Regions from separate parts of the Homo sapiens genome. Here region 2 is linked to region 1. Evidence: promoter capture Hi-C in 16 types of primary human blood cells and fetal thymus (Javierre and others, 2016). All regions are on one chromosome and are shown on one strand. Each heading gives the region's core, a stretch centred on a gene start or on the middle of the fragment in contact. The rest is flanking DNA. Distances are from core to core; before and after follow the strand shown. Region 1 holds the start of SLC9A2 (solute carrier family 9 member A2). Region 2 has its middle 67 kb from the start of SLC9A4.

What was found. The method cuts DNA at HindIII sites, captures the fragments that hold promoters and counts their contacts. A CHiCAGO score of 5 or more calls a contact.
Region 2: a fragment that was not itself captured here is called in contact with the fragment with the promoter of SLC9A2 in region 1 in 1 of 17 cell types (M2 macrophages); the score reaches 6.0 in M2 macrophages.

Annotation. Positions count from the first base shown.
Region 1 is chr2:102,617,511-102,621,629 of GRCh38, forward strand. SLC9A2 (solute carrier family 9 member A2) reads left to right here and starts at 2,043. Exons shown (of 12, transcript NM_003048.6): 1 at 2,043-2,627. The coding sequence starts at 2,339. RefSeq lists a silencer at 1,651-1,760. The HindIII fragment of the contact is 5,203 bases long and covers 1-3,182 here.
Region 2 is chr2:102,538,100-102,542,218 of GRCh38, forward strand. No RefSeq gene overlaps it. Among named protein-coding and RNA genes, the nearest start is that of SLC9A4, 67 kb to the left of the region's middle. The HindIII fragment of the contact is 5,272 bases long and covers 1-4,119 here.

The DNA.
Region 1 (4,119 bases), core at 793-3,292:
ATTCATTTTCTTGTTCATGATACACAATTATTCTTAAAAGTGTTGTGTGACAAACTCCTAGAAAGTATTGTCTAAATGTGCCCTCTCCCTATTACTATGTCACTAAGTTTGTAGAACTGCCTGATTCACTTACCAAAACTTTATCCTGCTGTAACTTTTTTGAACAATCCCTGTAATATTCTCCACTGCTTATTTTAAAGTAGCTGAGAATATAGCGTGCTGTTTATGGGCAACTAGTCATGGGGTAGAGGGTGAGATGATACCAGTGTTAGCCTGGGCAGGCCTGGGTGTGAATTCCATCCAGACACTTACTTAATATGTAAACTTGATTAAGTCTATTTGTTTATTTTTACACATTTCTACACTATATTTCTTCACTTATAAAATGGGTAAAAAATATCTGCCTCTTTGGATTTTTACGATTGACAAAAAAATGCAAGTAAAGTGCCTTGTATTGAGCTTCCCATGTAGAGACAGATACTCAAAAAATTTAAAAATCTCTTATTTGCTGCCTTTTCACAGGGGTATGTTAGGCACATACCTTTAATAAACGTTTCCAGTGAAAGGAGAAGGGGAGGCTGAGTTTTGGATGCCCAATGATTCTTCTCAAGATAATATCTTTAGTTTCAATTCTGTAGCGCTTTTGAAAAACTGATGCTTTGTGAAATATCAAATGAAGTAGTGCTCTGTAACATCTCCCAGAATTCTTCTCTCTTTTTAGCCTGGACTTGTCCCTCCATTACTTTGAAGACCCAAAGAGGACTGTTCCTTATTTTCTTCTATGCAGGTGGAGGATTTTTTTTTCTTGTACCCTCTGCTGACATCTCACTGATTTTCTATGTTAGAACTTTGAAAGAAAAAAAAAAAAAAAACGGCTTTGAAGGTCGAACTGCCTGGTGTTTGTTTAATAGTAGAAGCCACGTGTTTTGACACATCAAAGATTAAGAAAAGAGAAGGATTTTATTTCATAAATATCAAAGGGAAAACTTTCAGTTAATTGAATGGCAACTAGTCCCCTTTGTGCTCATTTCGGTTTCTGGCGATAAAGATGCTCAAACAGTGAGATCGCAACCAGTGAAGGAGGCGCTCTGAAGGACAGGAAAGGTTGGCTCTGCATGAGAAAGCCCTTTTAGATCCAGAAGAAGAATCACGCTTCCTTTCTTTTCCTGACCACAGCCTGTCCTGTAATTAGCGGAGCAAGTCAATCTGAGCGAGGCAAATCACTGGTTTTCCATGAAATAATTATATTTCTTATGCTCTTGGACATGTACACCTCTAAGCCTAAAAGCGGAGAAAGATGTTTTGGTTTTTTTTACGTGAGCTGGGGGAGGGAGAAGAAAAGTGGCAGCGACAGTGTAGCAAATGGGTGAAAGCAGCACAATGTGGCAAGAGGAGAGAACAGGATTCCGATTCCGTGGGGGCGTGGGAACACTGAGTTCCGCGCAGGGAGTTTCCCTGTTCAGAGCACCTTGTGCGCGAGTTGATAACTCTCGGAAAGGAAACAAAATTTGGCTTTCCTAAACTTTCTGTACGTCCAGAGAATCCCATGCCTTGTCTTGGCCTCCGCAGCGCCAGGCTGGGGTGACAGCACTCCTCCTCCACCGGCCCGGGCTTCTCCTCCGGACCGCGAGCCTGTGGCGCCTCCCCGCGCGCCCAGCGCACCGGGGTGTCCCCTTGGAGGAGCCTGCGGGGGCGGGGGAGGAGGGAAGGGCGCGACTCGTGGGTCGCGCTGGTTCCTTCACTGGATGGACGTCCGACGCTGCCTCCGGGGCGGAGACAGCTCCGGCCACCATGCGCCCGTTGCGGCGATTCCACCCACAGTTCGCTGGCTCTGGGGGTGGCGGGTCTTGGCGCGCGGTGCCTGCGCGAAGGGAGGGCAGCCATCGCCCCCGCGGTCACTGGGGCCCCGCGTTCCCCGCGGGCTCGGGCAGGTGCGCGGTGTGCCGGCCAGGTCCCCTTGTCCTCCTGCCCTGCGGCTTGGGCGCCGCGCCCGCCCCGCCCCCGCCCGCGGGCCGCCCTGGGCAGGGCCTGCCGCTGCGGCTGGAGAGCAGCGCACCGGCATGGGCAGGCGGCCGGCGGCGGAGGGCGGCTGAGGGCTGCTGAGGGTACGCGCAGCGGCCTCTCGTCGCCCTGCACGTGCCTCGCCAGGCAGTGCGCCTGCTCGCAGCGAGGACCTAGCCCTCTGGTTGCAGAGACCCGGTGCCGCAGCAGCGGCGGGTGGCTGTCGCTGCCCTGCCCTGCACGGGGCAGGGCGGAGCGGGCTGAGCAGCCCGGGCGCGATGCGTTGAGCGCTCGGAGGGCCAACCGCCGGTCCCCTTGGCGGCAACCGGCGGCACCCATGGAACCACTGGGCAACTGGAGGAGCCTGCGGGCGCCACTGCCTCCGATGCTGTTGCTGCTGCTCCTGCAGGTGGCGGGGCCCGTGGGCGCCCTGGCGGAGACCTTGCTGAACGCGCCGAGGGCCATGGGCACCAGTTCCAGCCCGCCTAGCCCTGCGAGCGTGGTGGCTCCCGGAACGACGCTGTTCGAGGAGAGCCGGCTGCCTGTGTTTACGCTGGATTACCCCCACGTGCAGATCCCCTTCGAGATCACCCTTTGGATCCTGCTGGCCTCCCTGGCCAAGATTGGTGAGCGAACTGGACTTGTGGGGAATGGGAGGGGGCGATCTCGGGGGGACACCTGGAGGGTGACCGGGTCAGCCAGCTGACCTCTAGATAGTGACCGCCTCATCTTGAATCAGGGCAGGGACGACAGATGGAGCAGCTTCTTCTGGTTGAAAAGGACCCTTGGAAGAGCAGTTTCGCGTTTTGGTTCTTAAGGGAACATTGGCCTTGAAATGGCCCCAAGTGTAAGTTCTACAAACTCAGCGATTGCTGCTTACTTCTGCCGCACGGAACGCCAAGTTTGTCAGCTCTCTGCTTAAGTTGAGTGAGATCTGTTTATTGAAGTGTACCAGTCTCACCTGCAGGGAGAGAGGTGCCGACGAACCCCGGAGCTATGCATAATGTGGTTAAAACCCTGGATGCTACAGGAGAGAGGCGCCTTGGCAGTGACACAGACCCTGCTGTGCGCCTGACTAATGAGGTGCATGGAAGGGGACCAGGGACACCTGAGTGCTTGCAGCTGCAATAGGAACGCCCTTTCTCCTCCCTCTATTGGGTTGAGGCTGTCACTCTCCAGGAAGCTTTTGCTTCGGGGTGGCTGAGGCCAGTGAGGTGAGATGCATATTTAAAAATAATTAACTCTGGGCCCAGGACAATGGCCCAGCCTGTAATCCCAGCACACTGGGAGGCCCAGACGTGAGGATCCCTTGAGGCCAGGAGTTCAAGATCATCATGGGCAACATAGCAAGACCAAACAGTACAAAAATAAAAAATTGGCCGGGCGAGGTGATTCACGCCTGTAATCCCAGCACTTTGGGAGGCTGAGGCAAGGTGGATCACGAGGATCACTGATCAACATGGTGAAACCTCGTCTCTACTAAAAATACAAAAAAATTAGCCGGGCGTGGTGGTGGGCGCCTGTAATCCCAGCTACTCGGGAGGCTGAGGGAGGGAATTGCTTGAACCCAGGAGGCGGAGGTTGCATTGAACCGAGATTGCCACTGCACTCCAGCCTGGGCAACAAAGCAAGACTCTGTCTCAAAAATTAATCAATCAATTAATTAATTAATTAGGTAGCCTGGTGTTGTGGTGCACATATGTATTCCCAGTTACTTGGAGGCTGAGGCGGGAGCCTGAGGGAGGAGGATCGCTTAAACTCAGGAGGTTGCGGTTGCAGTGAGCCATGAATGGCACCACTGCACTCCAGCCTGGGCCACAGAGAGATACCTTGTCTCAGGGAAAAAAAAAAAAAAAAAAAAATTACCCACTTTCATACTACCTTTAACTCTCATTTTGAAAGCAGAAACCTCAGAATATATTTTCTCATCTTCATTACCCACGCCCCAGAAACTTTCATGTTATGAGCATGGTGCTTTATATTATTTTTACTTTATATTTTAAAGACTTTAGAAAAATCCTGAAATATTAACTATTGTTATAATGATTCGATTAAGTTGTTAGGTCCAAAGAATGTATGCATTACATGTGTTTTACGTCTTTACCCTGTGAGATGAGG
Region 2 (4,119 bases), core at 977-3,476, 79 kb before region 1:
ATACCCTGGTGTATGGTTCTAATCTTGATTCACTCCCAGAATGACCATGGCATTGCTTCTGTATACTGTGATGGGCACACAATGAGGAAAAGGGAAACCTCTTTTGTTGAGAAAAAACTCAATGGAGTTTAATTCCTCAGTTTGGAATTTCATTTCTATAAGAGACCTTCCCTCCAAAAAAGTGATTCTGTTAACTTGTGAATATTAACTAAAGAGATAAGTGTTTAAGCACTTTTAGTATGGAACAAAATAGTTTCTGGTACATTTCATAATGTTCCAAAATTAGGCAAAGTAAAATATTCTTAATAAATGAAGTCAATGAGTGTGTTGAGGCTGTTTAAGGTTTTTGCAAGTATATTTTATCCACAAATAAAACAGGTGGTTTCTTGTAGTTTTAAATTTTTTTTATTTTATTTTTCTGGCTAAACTCTGTCAAGTATCTCATTTCTAATTCCTCCTGAGAAAACCCAGCAGGGCAGACAGAACACTTCCTTTCAGGACATCAGTCACCGTTAATTGCTAATGGGGCCATAAGCTAAGGAGAATAAAAGAGATGCCTGCATCAGTGCTAGCCACTGCTGTAATTAGCAAGTGATGTGCCCTTTCATCTGTGCGCAATAATTGATTTAATAAATTCTTTTTCTTTCTGAGGCTCTAATGAGCTTCCAAGCCAGGGGTACCCAAGTAAGTGTGGCAGGCTAGAAACACAATTTCCATTGCCTAGTCTTCCTCAAGTTGGGGTTTATTCAACAAATTAACTAAAAACCATGTTGTGGACTGAACCAAAACTATTTCCTTAGTAATACAGATCTCAAATTGAAATAGGTGGTCCTAAAATCAAGGTATATCCTCTGTGTTCTAAGAAATCAATCTTGAATAGAGAAGTGATAGCCAACATTTTTAGAGTGCTTACTATGTGCCAGACACTATTAAAATGCTTTACATACTAGTTTCAGTACATCTGAAATGAAGGGAAATGAGTTTAGAGAGATTAAGTAACAGATCCAAGGTCTCCCTAATTTTAAGGAAGACCTTAGACACCAGGTCTGTCTTGGCTCATAACCACTGACCTAAATTTCCTCCTTGAGCAGAATTGGGAATTTAATAAGTGACTCAGATCTGCACAAAATTCTTTCTTGCTTGGGAAAGATCCAATAGGAAAAAACAGACGCTCCATCTTGCCAAAAAAGAACTTTGCTTTAAAGTGGACATGTAAATACAGTGGAAACTGTTGTCGTTTTGAAAATTTGTTTTTATAAACTTAATGAATGATGTAAAAATTAGATGATAAGCAAGATTGCTAATTTGAGCCATTATGTTTTTGTTTTTGAGGACTTATAAAATGTTCTGGTCTGATTTTAATTGAGTTTCTTTTTGAATTTCAATTATATGTTGTTTCCAAAGAACTTTTTCATGGTTTCCAAATGAGTCCCTGACCAGACAATATCCACAGTTCTTGGCAACGTTGAAACATGAACTATGTTGTTTACTTAGAATGGACACATAAACCAACATTTCCACTGAAGAAAATGGGAGGGGATAAGAAGAATGACTTCAACTTTTTTTTTTTTTTTTTTGTGAGACGGAGTCTTGCTCTGTCGCCCAGGCTGGAGTGCGGTGGTGCGATCTTGGCTCACTGCAAGCTCTGCCTCCCGGGTTCACGCCATTCTCCTGCCTCAGCCTGCCGAGTAGCTGGGACTACAGGAGCCTGCCACCATGCCCGGCTAATTTTTTGTATTTTTAGTAGAGACGGGGTTTCACCGTGTTAGCCAGGATGGTCTCGATCTCCTGATCTTGTGATCCGCCCGTCTCGGCCTCCCGAAGTGCTGGGATTACAGGCGTGAGCCACCGCGCCCGGCCGACTTCAACTATTGAAGCATTCATATAATATTTGCAAAAGAACTTATATTCTTGGCAAGTACTTTGTCAGTAATTGAACATATACTATATGCTCATTTTACTAAGTACTCTATATATACACTTTAAAAATTTAATTCTGATAGCAATCTTATAGAGTAGTTATTATGTTTTTTCTCCCCACTGTACAGAAGAGGAAACTGAGTCTCAGTTAAGTTATCACAAAGGACATACAGCTAGTAAATGGCAGTATCATTTAGAGCAGTCTGACTCCAATGTCACTAACTCTATCCACTAAGCTGTAGTTACCCTCATAACTGTTGTAGAGAATACACTGAAAAAAAGAATATGCTTTTTGCCACCATCATTTGAATTTTAAAGGTTACTTTACCAAACCAGGTAAAATTTAGGTCTTGTTTGACTGCTGCTGCCACAGCTCCAAGGTTCCTTTCCATTTTACCTGATGCTGAAGTGCTAATTCATGCTCACAGAGGGTGTGACCAAATCATTCATTCAGGAGTCTGCGTCTTTGGACAAATATAGTGAAGTGAGGCTATGAGTTATGCTTGAATTAAATTATTTTTATTCAATATTTTTTTTCATTGGATTTTATCTTTGAACTAGTGAAAATACTAGAAATTGGGCCAGTTAGAAACTTTTAAAATAAGGGGTCGCCTAGCACCATGGCCCTGAGCCAGTCTAAAAGGAAAGAAGGACCCATAGTGTTTCATTTATTTTGTTTTCTTACAGCAATTTTTCTGGGTAACTAAGAGTGAGTGAAACTCCGACCCTGGGTTTCACTGGTGTACTCTTTCACCCGTGAAGGCGGCCCTTGTTTTGAGTTTGTGCTTGTCCTGGACCTGGTTCAGGAGGCAGCTCTATTATCTAACTGTGCCATCTTTAAAAGGGGTCGTGTAGATGAGGTTTCGGGGAGGGCGGGTGGTGGGAGGATATCACTAAAGTTCTAAATGAAGTTAAAAAAACAACCAGTCAGAAAGGAGGATAAATGTTTTGTCCTCCAAAAAAGGATATTCTTAAAAGGAGAGGACAAAAGGACAGGTCCTCACCCAAGGACACGCCCATGGAAAGTCACACAGAGCCGGGCAGTACAGACCAGCCCAACACAGGGTTTAGCAAACAATGCTTGCCCTACCCCACCCACATCCCTGGAGCTGAATTTCAAGTTCTGATTTTAGACAATACAGCTGGAATGTCTGCACTTTCACTCCACAACACATGCAGTTTCAGGCAGCTCTCTGGTAAAAAAAAAAACAAAACAAAACATTTGGACAAATATTATAAGAATGAAAATGAAAATTTGAAAAGTAAACTACATCTATGGTGAATTTGGCAATTAAATTCTTCCAGGCAGAATGAACAGAAAATAAGACATTTTGGGGTACCTCACAAGAGGTTTAGTTTCATAATGACTTGAGGAAGTAGGGTGAATTTATTGGAGGAGAAAAGGTACTATCGTGATTAAATCACAACACTAAGCCTTTTTGGTATTTAAGGGAGGCTCAGGAAACTTCCATACACAGGAAGATAATTTTACATTTGATAAATTATTTGCAAGGCTTAGAGTCCTGTCCAGTGTTCTCTATAAGACTATAAATGCTTTGGATGCCAGACATAAAGAAAGCTCTGGGAAAATGTTGCTTCATTAATGTGTCCTGTTTAGTCCTAAGATCTAAATACCTTAGAGCAATGGTTAAACCTTGGTTTAGCACTACAGGGTCAGTTCTTCCAGACTTCTGAACTATCTCCAGGATTACAGTAAATGTAGTTTACCTTGCAGTAGATGTCTTTCCAATAGGCATTAGCCTCACCTGTCTGGGGACAACCCTATAGCCTCTTCCTTCAACAAGGCAATATTTCTGAATCAGCAGATGTGGGGTGGAGTATTAGCTCTATTACTTAGCAGTTGTGTGATATTGACCAAAGAAGTCGGTTCCATGTCACTGAACTGGGGATAACGACATCTACTCCATCTAACTCATGAAGTGGTTGTGAGACTTGGATGAGGTCAAGAGTTTATAAACTCTGGAGTATGGAGCCCTCTTTCTGTCTTGAGCAACCAGAAACATTTTTGTGCCTATGAAAGAACTTAAAGAGGAAATACAAGTGGTTAAGAGCTGGAGTACAGGAGTAAAACAGACCTGAATTTGAATGCTGTTTTGCCGTTTTGTAAAACCTTACTCAGACAATTTGCTTAACCCTTCCAAGCATTAGCAGAGTGTTTGACACATAGTTTAGTGCACA